Regions from separate parts of the Homo sapiens genome. Here all the other regions are linked to region 1. Evidence: promoter capture Hi-C in human tissues and cell types (Jung and others, 2019). All regions are on one chromosome and are shown on one strand. Each heading gives the region's core, a stretch centred on a gene start or on the middle of the fragment in contact. The rest is flanking DNA. Distances are from core to core; before and after follow the strand shown.

Region 1 (3,828 bases), core at 466-2,965:
AAATAATGTCTGTAAAGTGGTTAGCATAGTGCCTAGCTCATGACAGACGCTGGGCGAACGTAGCCTGTTTGTGAAGTGGGATTTTCAAGTACCAGTCTGTCTGGCCCATGAGATCATTGGCTGGGTTATGCACCATTCTCCAGGAACCAAAAGCTCCATCACCTCCTGCCTTTTTGCTGATCCATATGCGCATACATAGTCACTCTCCCCTAGGGTGCTGGCTTCTCTTCAGGTTCCAGATGTTAACCCAGGCCTTTCCCTTTCGATCAGTGCCCTCTGGGATGGGCTCCTACATTCCCTGGGGAACAGATCCACCCCCTCACCCCCATCCTCATAGCTTGGCCTGCAGAGCATCTCCTGGATGTCCTGACCCCTGGCTTACCACCCTCTCATTCAAGGGTCTGAAACTCATAGTCCATGGGGCCAATTCAACCTACCTCCAGTTCTGTTCCACAGTGTTTCAAAACATAAATGTGGGTCATGCACTCACTCTCCTGGCCACAGGCCCCACTCCTCCCTATTGGCTAAGCTCCCCTCCCCACAATTCTCACATTTTCTGTAACTGCCTAGAGCCAGTAGGAATTTGAATTTGCAGTTCCTGTTAGGAATCTAAAAGCTGCCCACTTCTGGGGAACAGCGTGTGCGAGGAAAAGTGCAGAGAAGCCCAGCAGCCCAGGTCAGGGGACGTCAGGCAAGGGCCTCCTGCCCCTTGGGCCTCAGTCTATTCACCACAGCATCCATAGTCCTGGGCGCATGGGCAGCTCTTGGCAAATACAGTTTGAATGAATGAAGTTTCCTCCAGGCAGAGATCATCTTCATTTATCTAATATCTAATTAGGCCTGCACCTCATCTGCTTCTGAATTTTAACAACCTGCCTTTAAAAGACAAGCCTGCCCCCGAAGGATTCCCTAGGGACCTTGGGACAGGCAGCTATGTGGATCATATTGAGCCAGGGCTGCACAACCTGGAATTAAACATGTGCTTAGGGCACTAGCCAAACAGGAGCACAGAAACACATACACAGTTTTTTGTTGTTGTTGTTGTTTTTCTTGTTTTTTGTTTGTTTGTTTTGTTTTTTGTTTTTTAAGGATTATTATGGGAGGAAAATAAAAATTTGTTGAACTTTTTTTTTTTCCTTTTTTGAGAGCGTCTCTCTCTCTCTCTGTCACCCAGGCTAGCGTGCAGTGGTTCAATCTCGGCTCACTGCAGCCTCAACCTTCCCGGGCTTAAGCGATCCTCCCCCTTCAGCCTCCCAAGAAGCTGGGACTACAGGTGGCACCACCACGCCCGGCTAAGTTTTTAAATATTTTGTAAAGACGAATTTGCCCGAGCTGGTCTCGAACCCCTGGGCTCAAGCGATCCTCTTGCCTCAGCCTCCCAAAGTGCTAGAATTACAGGCATGAGCCACCTCGCGCGGCTCTGGAGTTATTTTACACACTACAATTTATTTATGCATGATTGCGGGAGACCCTGATACTTTCAACGCTTAGGGCAGCGAGATATGAATGGACTGGGGACCGCGACCGCTCTTTCCTTTTCCCTGGCAGGGGGAGCTGTGGCGCAGCAGGCGCGGCCGGGCGGGCGGCGAAACTTACCAGTGGCGGGGCCCGGACTGCTTGTCCGTGGCTGCTCCGGCCGCTTGTCCGACGGCTGCTGCAACTGCGCTTCCGACGGTGCCGGGAGGACTGCTTGCTGCGCGGCCTCGCTGCGCCACACCCCCAGCCCCACGCCCGGGCGTTCTGGGACCCCTGGAACGGGCGCCTTTGTGACTCGCACAAACATGGACGTTCTCCCCTGCAAGTCCGCTGGGAGGGCACAGGGCCCTCGGGAGGAGAGGACAAGAGCAGCTGGTTGGAGGGAAGCTTTTGGTTGGGGGAGAGGGGCGACACACTCTCCAGCGACCCCTTACCAGACTACCCGGACCCTCATGACGCTAAGTGACTTCTTGAGTCAATCAACAGTCTTAGCCCCTCCCTCGGCCAACGCCATGCAATCGCTGGTCCACCTCGCCCCACTCACACCCCATTCACCGTCTTCTTAGCCTACACCTACACTCATGCTCACAGCAGCCCTGCTAGGTACAGACTTCACACGCAGCTAACTCAAAGGAGCCCAGTTTTTTCTACTCTGAAAAATAAAATAAAGTAAAAATAAATTAAAAAAAAATGTTGGGGCGGGGGGGGAAAGAGATATTTCATGAGAAAAATAACTTCATCAGTGCAGGAGAATTTTCTTCAGAACATCCACCTGACCCCCACCCACTGTGAGCATAACACGGGAACCCAAGTGTGATCCAGGCAAGTGAGCTTTTCACTGCCCTAACGGAGTTTAGTGGTTTAAAGATACACATTTTTCATACAATCGGCCCTGAAACACAAGTCAACTACTTTCTCTGGGGCTAAGCTCTAGAAACAATCACAGAATTAATGGAAAATTATTGGGGGTACCTGTTTTCTACAGTAATTTTGATTCCATGTGATTTCCACTTTAACTCCTAGCCCCCTGAGTGGATTGTAGTAGCTCAGCCCTGCTAAGGTCTCCACTTCATCCGTAAATTCTTGGGACAGGATGTGTGTTTTAGAACTTACCATATTTTGGAGGCCAGGTGCGCTGGCTCATGCCTATAATCCTAGCACTTTGGGAGGCTGAGGCAGGTAGATCATTTAAGGTCAGGAGCTCAAGACCAGCCTGGCCAACATGGTGAAACCCTGTGTATTTCTTTTTTTTTTTTTTTTTTTTTTGTATTTCTACTAAAAATATAACAAATTTAGCCCGGCATGGTGGCACACACCCGGTGGGTGCCTGTAGTCTCTGCTACTCGGGAGGCTAGGGCAGGAGAATTGCTTGAACCCAGGAGGCAAAGGTTGCCGTGAGCCAAGATCACACTCACTCCAGCCTGGGTGACAGAGTGAGACTCCGTTTCAAAAAAAAAAAAAAGAACTTACCATGTTTTTGGTTTCAGAAAGATAATATGGTACGCAAGGGAGTATGTTGCCCCTAATGTTGCTGGCAGCCACGTTGTAACCATGAGGGAAGTCAGTGGGACAGTATATTACATACAGGGTTCGGGCCACACAGTCCAGATCAAACGAATTACTGTTTCTGCAAGGAAACATCAATATTCATGTCAAGTAAGATAAGGATAGATTATGAACAGCTACATGTCAGGCCTTGCCTCCAAATGATTCATATGAAGTGTTTTGGATACACTTGACCATCCTCATTTTACAGATGGGGAAACAGACTTAGAGAAACCGAGTTTTGCAGTCAGTGGAGCAGCCAGGATTTGAACCCAAGGCTCCCTGTCTCTGGAGCCCCACGCTTTTCCACACCCTGACTGAAACCACAGCCCCAAATCTGAGCAGCCCTGCAAGCTGATATCTCCCATCTCTGATATTTAAAGGGCTGCTCCAGCACTCAGCTCCATGCAGAGCCCAATGACTCACACATTTCAAGTGTCAACGACTGAAAAATGATTAAGTTCAATTAGGTTCAGGACTTGTTAAAAATAGACCTTCCTCCGACGAATTTACTCTCTTTGTCTTTATGGGCGCAGCTCTCAGCAGCCGCCATGCAGAGACGTATCAGGCTTTTTTAATTAGAACATGTCAGAATCGATTCTGCTAAAGGGACCTTCTGCTTTATCAGCGGGACTTGGAGCAGGGTGAGATGCCAGCTTGCCAAAGCGATGAGCCAGCGGTGGGAAATGTTGGCGACAGCAGAGCCTCCAGAACACAGGAGGAAATTAGAGCCAAGCCGCAGAGGGACCAGGCAGAGGCATTTGGACGCAGACCAGAAAACTGACAGTCCAAGTGACTCTTTGGTTA
Region 2 (3,828 bases), core at 755-3,254, 370 kb after region 1:
ATGGAGTCTTGCTCTGTTGCCCAGACTGGATTGCAGTGGCGCCATTTCGGCTCACTGCAAGCTCCGCCTCCCAGGTTCATGCCATTCTCCTGCCTCAGCCTCCCGAGTAGCTGGGACTACAGGCGCCCGCCACTGCGCCCGGCTAATTTTTTGTATTTTTAGTAGAGACGGGGTTTCACCATGTTAGCCAGGATGGTCTCGATCTCCTGAGCTTGTGATCTGACCGCCTCAGCCTCCCAAAGTGCTGGGATTACAGGCGTGAGCCACCGTGCCCGGCCTGTTGGGTTATCTTCTATTGTATATATGTTTACACTGTTATTTGATTATGTACCTGTTGATAGACATTTGGGTAGTTTCCACTTTTTGTCTATTACAAATAAAGCTGGAAAGACACATTTTAAGTTAAAAGTTTGCGTCCGGGTGTGGTGGCCCATGCCTGTAATCCCAGCACTTTGGGAGGCTGAGGCGGGCAGATCACTTGAGGTCAGGAGACCAGCCTGGCCAACATGGCAAAACCCTGTCTCTACTAAAAATATATAAAAGTTAGCCAGGTGTGGTGGCGTACACCTGTAGTCCCAGCTACTCAGGAGGCTGAGGCAGGAGAATCTCTTGAACCCAGGAGGTGGAGGTTGCAGTGAGCCGAGATCGCAACACTGCACTCCAGCCTGGGTGACAGAGTGAGACTCTGTCTCAAAAAAAAAAAAAGTATATAGTTAGTTGAATTCAATAAGCACATTTTTGTTTCAATATTATTAATAACAGGCTATTTCAGTTTTGTATTAAACTTTAAATTTAGTTATTTCTTCAAGATTTTGGCAAGTTGGATACTACAGGTAAGGACTAACTAGTTGACCAAGAAATGGAAAATCATTTGGAAATTGTATTATGACCCTTGAAACATAACTTATAATCTGTAATAATATGAATGCCAATTTAAGATTTTTAAAAGTTTTTTGTTTTGGAAATCCTTTTTCAAGTTGTAAACAGAGGCTATTTATATAAGAATATGAATTGTGTCCTTAATAAACAATATTTCTGAGATGCATATTATATTTTGGACCAACACTTAATTTCTCAATAGCTTGATAACATTTCTTTACAGAAAATGAAGCACTTAAAAATAAATAGGCTGGGCATGGTGGCTCATGCCTGTATAACCCCAGTACCTTGGGAGGCTGAGGCAGGCAGATCACCTGAGGTTGGGAGTCGAGACCAAGCCTGGGCAACATGGTGAAACCCGTCTCTACTAAAAAAAAAAAAAAACCACACACACAAAATACTTAGCCAGGCATGGTGTCACACCCCTGTAATCCCAGCTACTTGGGAGGCTGAGGCAGAAGAATCACTTGAACCTGGCAGGCAGAGGTTGCAGTGAGCTGAGTTACTGCAACTGCACTCCAGCCTGGGTGACAGAGTGAGACTGACTCAAAAGAAAAAGAAAAATAGTATGGCAGTGCCTCGAACATTTAAACATAGAATTGCCATATAATCTAATAATTCCACTTCTGATCCAGCAATTCCAAAAGAACTGAAAGCAGGGACTCAAACAGATTATTTATCCATGCTCATAGCAGCATTACTTCATAATAGCCAAAAAGTGGAAGAAACCCAAGTATCCATCAACAGGTGAATATATAAACAAAATGTGGTATATACAAACAATGGAATATTATTTAGCTTTAAAAAAATAAGAGAATTCAGACACATGGTACAATATGGATGAACCCTGAAGACATGCTAAGTGAAATAAGCCAGTCACAAAGGACAAATATTGTATGATTTAACTTTTATGAGATACCTAGGAAAATCAAATATATACGGAGTGAAAGAATGGAGGTTGCAAGAGGTCAGGGGAAAGGAGGTATATAGGGAATTAGTGGTTTTTTATTTTGTTTTTAAATTTTCTTTTAGAGACAAAAAAAACTAAAGTTAATTTTATGTTGCCCAGGCTGGTCTCAAACTCCTGGGCTCCAGCGATCCTCCAGCCCTAGCCTCCCAAAGTGCTGGGATTACACACACGAGCCACTGCACCCACCTGAGAGTTAGTGTTTTATAGGTACGGAGTTTTAGTTTGGGAAGATGAAAACTTTCTGGAAATGGATGGTGGTAGTGGTTGCACAACAGTGTGAATATACTTAATGCCACTGAAATGTACACTTAAAAATGATTAAAATGGGCCAGGTGCATTGGCTCATGCCTATACATCCCAGCACTTTGGGAGGCTGAGGCGGGCAGATCACTTGAGTCCAGGAGTTTGAGACCAGCCTGGCCTACATGGTGAAACCCTTAGGCTGGGCGTGGTGGCTCACACCTTTAATCCCAGCACTTTGGGAGGCCGAGGCGGGCGGATCACGAGGTCAGGAGATCGAGACCATCCTGGCTAACATGGTGAAACCCCGTCTCTAGAAAAATATAAAAAAATTAGCCAAGCATGGTGGCAGGCGCCTGTAGTCCCAGCTACTCAGGAGGCTGAGGCAGGAGAATGGCGTGAACCCGGGAGGTGGAGCTTGCAGTGAGCCAAGATCGTGCCACTGCACTCCGGACTGGGCAACAGAGTGAGACTCCATCTCAAAAAAAAAAAAAAAAAAAAAAAAAAAATTAGCTAGGCGTGGTGGGGGTGCACCTGTAATCCCAGCTACTCAGGAGGCTGAGGCAGGAGAATCGCTTGAACTCAGGAGGCAGCGGTTGCAGTGAGCCGAGATCGAGCCATTGCACTCCAGCCTGGGCAACAAGAGCGAAACTCCATCTCAAAGAAAAAAAAAAAGATTAAAATAGTAAATTTTATATTATGTATATTTTACCACAAATAAATAGTTAACCAACCCAAGAACTTTTGAATATACTGCTTGGACTATATGCCCTCAAACAAAAACAACTCTAAGCAAATACTGATCTCTAATTAACTACTAGGCTTTTTTTTGTTGTTTTGTTTTTTGTTTTTTTTGGGTTTTTTTTTAGATGGAGCCTTGCTCTGTCGCCAGGCTGGAGTGCAGTGGCGCGATCTCTGCTCACTGCAACCTCCAACTCCCTGGTTCAAGTGATTCTCCTGCCTCAGTCTCCCAAGTAGCTGGGATTACAGACACGCGCCACCATGCCCAGCTAATTTTTTGTATTTTTAGTAGAGACGGGGTTTCATCATGTTGGCCAGAATGGTCTCAATCTCCTGACCTCGTGATCCACCTACCTCAGCCTTCCAAAGTGCTGGAATTACAGGCGTGAGCCACTGCGCCCAGCCTACTAGGCTTCTTTTTTTTTTTTTTCAGAAGCATGTGTTAGCACTTTAGAAACTACTTTTTTATACATCTTAGGACGAAGCAAATAATATATTGTAGTTAATAAGCAGGTCTCACACTTTTGGAGACGAGTTACCTATTAATATGGAAAGAGGAAAGCACAGAATAAACCCTGTTTGTTGGATTGGAATTTGGAGTTAGTAGAAATATTGAAATAGATATGTATGGGTATGTATGTGCTCACAGGTAAATGCACACACATTTCTTTCCCAGCACTGTCCTCGGAGAAAGTCTAGAAGCAATGAAAGTATATTATAAATAAGCACACCTAGCACCCAGATCTTGGTTTCTACGTACTCTTCTCTACTTTAAATATATAATTTTTTTTTTTTTTTGAGACAGAGTCTCGCTCTGTTGCCCAGGCTCACTGCAAGCTCCGCCTCCCAGGTTCACGCCATTCTCCTGCCTCAGCCTCCCGAGTAGCTGGGACTACAGGCGCCAGCCACGACGCCCGGCTAATTTTTTGTATTTTTAGTAGAGACGGGGGTTTCACCGTGTTAGCCAGGATGGTCTCGATCTCTTAACCTCGTGATCC
Region 3 (3,828 bases), core at 593-3,092, 340 kb after region 1:
AGGCGGAGCTTGCAGTGAGCTGAGATCGCACCACTGCACTCCAGCCTGGGCGACAGAACCAGACTCCGTCTTAAAAAAATTAAAATAAAAAAATTAGCCAGGTATGGTGGCACGCTCCTGTGATCCCAGCTACTCTGGAGGCTGAGGTAGGAGGATCACCTGAGTCTGGGAAGTCAAGGCTGCAGTGAGCCAAGATCACGCCACTGCACTCCATCCTGCTCCATCCTGGGTGACAGAGTGAGACTTTGTTTCAAAAAAAAGAAAAGAAAAGAAAAGAAGCTGCACCCTGGATCAAACCATGGCGGTGGCTCATGCCTGTAATCCCAGCACTCTGGGAGGCCAAGGCAGGAGAATTGCTTGAGCCCAGGAGTTTGAGACCAGCCTGGGCAACATGACGAGACCCTGACTCTACAAAAATTAAGAACAAAAACAAAAACAACCATGCCTGTGACTTAATTTTGAATTTTTTGTTTACATGAGCCAATACTTTATTTTTTAAGCTAGTTTGAGTTGGACCGTCTGTTTTTATTTGTTACTTGTAACCTAAGGCATAGTATCATATAACTACCCTATAAAAACCATTAAATAATTAACCAATCACAAATACTTACTGGACATGACTCAAGTAAGCTACTTGAGAGATACTGAATACCAAGTATTCACTTTCTGTCTAAAATCTAGTTGGAGATAAGGAAAGAGGATAATTATAGTAACAGCAATCACTAACAAGTACTCCCCCTGGGGCAGGTACTGCGGTATGTACTTTACATATGTGATCTCACTTCATCCTCACAATCACCCCGTAACTTGTGGGTAGGCATGATCATCTCCACTTCACAGTAAGGAATGAAGATTCAGAGAGCTTATGCACTGTCCCAAAACTAATAAGTGGAGAAGAATTTACACGCACATCTTTGTGATGTCAAGGCTTGCTATGCTTTTAATCATGCTCTTTGAATCATTCTGCTATTAAATGAACTGAAGTTCAAAGAAGGAAAAAATAATGTTAAATTATTAGTATTTTATAGGAAACAATTTAAAGACTATAAATATATGCTGAAATAAAAATATATTATAATAAATGTAAGATTAAATTAAGAAATACAGCCAGGCGCGGTAGTTCACACCTGCAATCCCAGCACTTTGGGAGGTCAAGGCCGGCAGATCATCTGAGGTCAGGAGTTTCAGACCTGCCTGACCAACATGGTAAAACCCCATCTCTACTAAAAATACAAAATTAGCCGGGCATGGTGAAGCATGCCTGTAATCCTAGCTACTCAGCAGGCTGAGGCAGGAGAATTGCTTGAACCCAGGAGGTAGAGGTTGCAGTGAGCCAAGATCATGCCATTGCACTCCAGCCTGGGCAACAAGAGCGAAACTCCATCTCAAAATGAATATATATATGTATATATGTTATACATTATGTATATAATATTATGTATATATGTATACATAATATGTATTATGTATATATTATACATATATAATACATATATATTTAATACATATATTATGTATTATATTTAATACATATATTATGTATTATATTTAATACATATATTATGTATTATATTTAATACATATATATTATACTTAATACGTGTTATATATTATATTTAATACATATATATTATATATTATATTTAATACATATATTATATATTATATATAATACATATATTATATATAATACATATTATATATATAATATACATATATATAATCAAGCAGCTAGTAAATTTTAGAACAACCAATTGCTTGAATTCATACGGATATTTGAAAAAAATTAGGCTGTATGCAGGCAAAGCTTGTGCCACTGACAAGTCAAAAAAAGAAATAATACCGATCATCTTACAATACTTCTACAGTGACAGGTAAGATAATACTTCAGGCCAGGTGCAGTGGCTCATGCCTGGCTCAGGCCAGGTGCAGTGGCTCATCCCAGCACTTTGGGAGGCCGAGGCAGGTGGGCAGATCACCTGAGGTCAGGAGTTCGAGATCAGCCTGGCCAACACGGTGAAACCCCGTCTCTACTAAAAATACAAAAATTAGCTGGGCATGATGGCAGGTGCCTGTAATCCCAGCTACTTGGGAGGCTGAGGCGGGAGAACTGCTTGAACCCACGAGGTGGAGGTCGCAGTGAGCTGAGATGGCGGCATTGCACTCCAGCCTTGGCGACAGAGCAAGACTCCATCTCAAAAAAAAAAAAAAGGATAATACTTCAAACTGCCCTACCACTTAACTACACACACTCTAAGCAATAATGTAACGAGAAATCTTGACATGAAATATCAATGTTCTAAACATGAAAACTATTGAGAAAAAAACATAGTATTTTAAACCACTTTTAATTATACCTACCATGTCTGTAGAAGAATTGAATAACTACTTTGCATTTATCAGATCTGGTGAATATTCTGCACTTCTCTATATTTCTTTCAAGGGAATTCAGACATCTAAAGATGGGCAAAATTGACTGTAACAGAAATATACATATTAAGCACATACTTAACATGGTTGATTCATTTTAGAAACAAAAGTATATGCATTCATAAATGAACAGACTTGGCCAGGCGCGGTGGCTCACGCCTGTAATCCCAGCACTTTGGGAGGCCGAGGCGGGCGGATCACGAGGTCAGGAGATCGAGACCATCCTGGCTAACACAGTGAAACCCCGTCTCTACTAAAAATAGAAAAAATTAGCCAGGCGTAGTGGCGGGCGCCTGTAGTCCCAGCTACTCGGGAGGCTGAGGCAGGAGAATGGCGTGAACCCGGGAGGCAGAGCTTGCAGTGAGCCGAGATTGTGCCACCGCACTCCAGCCTGGGCGACAAAGCGAGACTCCGTCTCAAAAAAAAAATGAACAGACTTGGCCAGGTGCACTGGCTCACGCCTGTAATCCCAGCACTTTGGGAGGCCGAGGTGGGCAGATCACTTGAGGTCAGGAGTTCAAGACCAGCCTGGCCAACATGGCGAAACCCTCATCTCTATTAAAAACACAAAAATTAGCCAGGCATGGTGGCACACGCCTATAATCCCAGCTACTTGGGAGGCTGAGGCACAAAAATCACTTGAAACTGGGAGGCAGAGGTTGCAGTGAGCCAAGATTGCACCACTGCACTCCAGCCTGGGTAAGAAAGCGAGACTCTGTCTCAAAAATAATAATAATAATGAACAGATTTGTCCTGAATGCCATTTAAACTATTAAGTATAGAATACAGGTTATGTCCTATATAATGAATATTTCTACAGAATAAGAGAAAACCAGGGCCACTTATATTTACCTTCATTCCCAATTTGCATTTTAAATGCAGTGTTGTGTCAAGTTCATTTTCACTCATTTTCACTAAAGCTGACCATTGATAATGCTGAAAAAACACAGGAGAGAACAGGACACATCCATATGCTGACCGAGAAGAATTCACACATCTTAGAGCAAGCTAGAAAAATAAGATAAAAACTATTTAGGAGAGGTTGCGCATGGTGGCTCCCATGAACCTGTAATCCAAGCACTTTGGGAAGCCAAGGCAGGAGGATGGATGGAAGCCAGGAGTCTGAGACCAGCCTGGCCAACAGAGCAAGACCCCACCTCTATTTTTTTATTTTAAAAAAATTTAGGAGAAAATAAACTTTCTTTACATAATAGCTTGATTCAGAAAACGTCATTATGTTTAACATCACAGTTAAATGTGTTCAAATAAGAACATGGGATGTTAATTATGGACTGCCCTATATAGTCTGTATTGAATTTGCATATATATACATATATGTACACCTATAATATATACAGGACATAACCTGTATTCTATACTTGATAGTTTAAATGGCAT
Region 4 (3,828 bases), core at 981-3,480, 320 kb after region 1:
CTGATTTTGAAGCTGGAAAAGAACTACAAAGCAAAGAATGGAAGTGGTCTCTAGAAGCTGGAAAGGGCAAGAAAGCAGATTCTCCCCCAGAGTCTCCTGAAGGGAACACAGCTCTGATGACACCTTGATTTTAGCCCATTGAGACCCAATTAGGACTTCCGACCTTTGGAACTGTAAGATACTCAATTCATGTTGTTTCAAGCCACTAAATTTGTGGCAATTTGTTAAAGGGTCATTGGGAAACTAACATACTGATCTGGCCATAATTGGAGGCATGGTTTCTTTTCTTTTTTTTTTTTTTTTGAGATGGAGTCTCGTTCTGTCGCCTAGGCTGGAGTGCGGTGGCATGATCTCAGCTCACTGCAAGCTCCGCCTCCTGGGTTCATGCCATTCTCCTGCCTCAGCCTCCCAAGTAGCTGGGACTACAGGCGCCCGCCACCACACCCAGCTAGTTTTTTGTATTTTTAGTAGAGATGGGGTTTCACCGTGTTAGCTAGGATGGTCTTGATCTCCTGACCTCGTGATCTGCCTGTCTCGGTCTCCCAAAGTGCTGGGATTACAGGCATGAGCCACCGTGCCCGACCAATTGGAGGCATGGTTTCAATTGCCTCTAAAGAGTCTAGTCTTCACCAAGGTCAAGAACCTAAGGCTAGAAAAGACCTAAATACAGCACCTGTGTCTGTTCAGTGTATATCATCACGTGCAAATAGCTCTTGATAATGTTTGTGGTGCTATATGAGACTTGAAAGCTGAGGTTTTCTTTAATCTTTGAGAGCTGCCCTGAATTTGCTACTGGCTTAGAGTAAATGCTATTTGCTACCCTCCCTTGTCCCCACCTTCAGCCTGTAAGTCTCATATGGCTGGATAATGGGGCCCTTCTCCATGTCTAGTAATCTAATGGAGGAAGCTTGAGAACACCCATGCAACTAGAAATTAACTTCAAGTCTAATATGAGTTGGGTAGGAAGAGAATTATAAAATCTTTTTTTTTTTACTAATATACATATTGTCCCTATTTTGATGCCCCTGAGAGCTGTGTATAACTTCTAGTTTAAACTTAATAAAAAATCCACAGCAGGCCAGGCGGGGTGGCTCATGCCTGTAATCCCAGACTTTGGGAGGCCAAGGCAGGTGGATCACCTGAGGTCAGGTGTCCGAGACCAGCCTGGCCAACACAGTGAAACCCTGGCTCTACCAAAAAAATACAAAAATTAGCTGGGCGTGGCCAGGTGCAGTGGCTCACGCCTGTAATCCCAGCACTTTGGGAGGCCAAGGCGGGTGGATCACGAGGTCAGGAGTTCAAGACCAGCCTGGCCAAGATGGTGAAACCCTGTCTCTACTAAAAACTACAAAAATTAGCCAGGTGTGGTGACAGGCGCCTGTAATCTCAGCTACTCGAGAGGCTGAGGTAGGAGAATCACTTGAACCCGAGTGGCAGAGGTTGCAGTGAGCCAAGATCATGCCACTGCACTCCAGCCTAGGCAACAGAGTGAGACATAGTATCAAAGTATCTCTCCACAAAATACTTACCAGTTGCTAAAAGAAAAACAGTAACTATATAGTAGAGAGCCGGCAGACACCACCTTGACCATATGATGGAAATTAACACCACCAATATGGAGAAAAACCAACCTGTGCCTCCAGATACGATGTACAAAGAGAACCCAACATTATTACTCTGTTGAATTCTTACCAAAAATACATAGTTTAAATTGAATCATGAGGAAACACAGAAAAAACCCAAAGTTAGGACATTCTACTAAAATGTCAAAGTAAAGGACAAAGCGGGCTGGGTGCAGTGGCTCATACCTGTAATCCCAGCACTTTGGGAAGCCAAGGAGGGCGGATCACTTGAGGTCAGGAGTTTGAGACCAGCCTGGGCAACATGGTGAAACCCCGTCTCTACTAAAAATACAAAAACTGGCCAGACACAGTGGCTCACACCTGTAACCCCAGCACTTTGGGAGGCCAAGGCGAGTGGATCACCTGAGGTCGGGAGATCGAGACCATCCTGGCCAACATGGTAAAACCCCGTCTCTACTAAAAAAAATACAAAAAAATTAGCTGGGCGTGGTGGTAGGCACCTGTATTCCCAGCTACTCAGGAGGCTGAGGCAGGAGAATCACTTGAACCCGGGAGGTGGAGGTTGCAGTGAACCAGATTGCACCACTGCAATCTAGCCTGGGCGAAAATGAAACTCCGTCTAAAAAAAACCAAATAAATAAAAAGAAGAAAGTCTTAAAGGCAGAGTAATAATCAAAATATTTGAAGTGATTATCTCTTATTTGTATTTTCTGATTTTTGTTCAATGAAATGATCATTGTACTGTTATACTGAATATTAAATGTGGAGGCCAGGCACAGTGACTCATGCCTGTAATCCCAGCATTTTGGGAGGCCAAGGCAGGCAGATCACTTGAGGCCAGAAGTTTGAGACCAGCCTGGCCAACCATATCTGGCTAATTTTTGTATTCGCAGTAGAGACGGGGTTTCACCATGTTGGCCAGGATGGTCTCGATCTCTTGACCTTGTGATCTGCCCACCTCGGCCTCCCAAAATGCTGGGATTACAGGCATGAGCCACCACGCCGGCCAATCTAAGAGTTTTAAAAGCAAGAGAGTGATAAGTAACAACAATAATTTTTTTCTTTTTGAGACGGAGTCTTGCTCTGTCGCCCAGGCTAGAGTGCAATGGCACGATCTCAGCTCACTGCAATCTCCGCCTCCCGGATTCAAGCAATTCTCCTGCCTCAGCCTCCTGAGTAGCTGGGATTACAGGCGCCCGCCACCATGCCCAGCTTATTTTTGTATTTTTAGTAGAGACAGGGTTTCACCAATCTTGGCCAGGCTGGTCTTGAACTCCTGACCTCGTGATCTGCCCGCCTCTGCCTCCCAAAGTGCTGGGATTACAGGCATGAGACACTGTGCCCAGCCAATAACTAAATTTTATCAAGCACTGACCATGTGCCTGTTGCATCTTTAGCTCAATCTTTACAATTCCATTTAGTGGGCATAATTATTATTACCCCCATTTTACTAAGGAAACTGAAGGCAAAATAAATAACTTGTCCAAGTTACGCAGTTAATACGTGGTAAGAGAGAGGTTTGAACCTTGGCATTTGAACTCTAGAGCCAGGGCTCTGAACCCCTGGGCCTCACTGTAGACCTCAGGTTTGGACAAAAATCTATGAGTACACTGTGGAAGAGAAGCAGGGTGAAGGAGAACAGAGGCACAGAGGATGGCAGGAAGCCCATGGAATTTCAGGCAGAACATGATAAGGGTCTACATCATTTACCCATAATGTAATTTCAGCTTTGCAGGAGTTTGCCACATTAAGGCAAATAATTCCCTTTAAAAATAGAGCCTTCTTTCAAGAATTTGGTGACACAATAGGAAATTTGGAGTAAAGAGTGCTGTAATGGTGCTCATGGAGATTAAAGTTCTAAATGTCATTTTCTCTAGCAAAGAAACTGGCAATCTTAGTGAATTTCAGGGACCTGAAGCAGCAGGAAGATGATTCCTGTTGTTGCCTGTGAAAAAGTAAGTACAATATGTGTGACTAGAAAAATAGGAGGGGACAATGCTTTTGTACAATGAGAACACAGATTTCAGTTTTCATTTTATGGCCAACTTAGTAACATACAGGAAGAGAAAATTGCCCTAAGTGTTGGGAATATAACAAGTACTCAATAAACACCTATGGTATCAAACTAAGTCCAGTTTACTAATCAAATTCTGCCCTAAAAGTCATATACAGCGTAATATGGTGAATTTTTTATTTTTTTAAGAAACAGTGTCTCACTCTGTTGCCCAGGCTGGAGTGCAGTTGT

The links. Contacts are between HindIII fragments. The study calls those that stand out against the background at their distance.
Region 2: a fragment that was not itself captured here is called in contact with the fragment with the promoter of CCDC63 in region 1 in 1 of the 25 tissues and cell types used here (spleen).
Region 3: a contact is called between a fragment that was not itself captured here and the fragment with the promoter of CCDC63 in region 1, in 3 of the 25 tissues and cell types used here (dorsolateral prefrontal cortex, lymphoblastoid cells and spleen).
Region 4: a fragment that was not itself captured here is called in contact with the fragment with the promoter of CCDC63 in region 1 in 1 of the 25 tissues and cell types used here (spleen).

What each region holds. Positions count from the first base shown.
Region 1 is chr12:110,844,874-110,848,701 of GRCh38, reverse strand. CCDC63 (coiled-coil domain containing 63) reads right to left here and starts at 1,715. Exons shown (of 12, transcript NM_152591.3): 1 at 1,597-1,715. The HindIII fragment of the contact is 19,678 bases long and covers 1-3,828 here.
Region 2 is chr12:110,478,964-110,482,791 of GRCh38, reverse strand. The region is part of intron 2 of FAM216A (family with sequence similarity 216 member A); the gene reads right to left. The region is part of intron 1 of LOC124903016 (a long non-coding RNA gene); the gene reads left to right. Among named protein-coding and RNA genes, the nearest start is that of FAM216A, 12 kb to the right of the region's middle. The HindIII fragment of the contact is 7,273 bases long and covers 1-3,828 here.
Region 3 is chr12:110,505,227-110,509,054 of GRCh38, reverse strand. RAD9B (RAD9 checkpoint clamp component B) reads right to left here. Exons shown (of 11, transcript NM_001286535.2): 3 at 3,283-3,438; 4 at 2,362-2,476. Among named protein-coding and RNA genes, the nearest start is that of RAD9B, 4.8 kb to the right of the region's middle. The HindIII fragment of the contact is 8,113 bases long and covers 1-3,828 here.
Region 4 is chr12:110,523,384-110,527,211 of GRCh38, reverse strand. The region is part of intron 10 of RAD9B (RAD9 checkpoint clamp component B); the gene reads right to left. Among named protein-coding and RNA genes, the nearest start is that of RAD9B, 23 kb to the right of the region's middle. The HindIII fragment of the contact is 3,993 bases long and covers 234-3,828 here.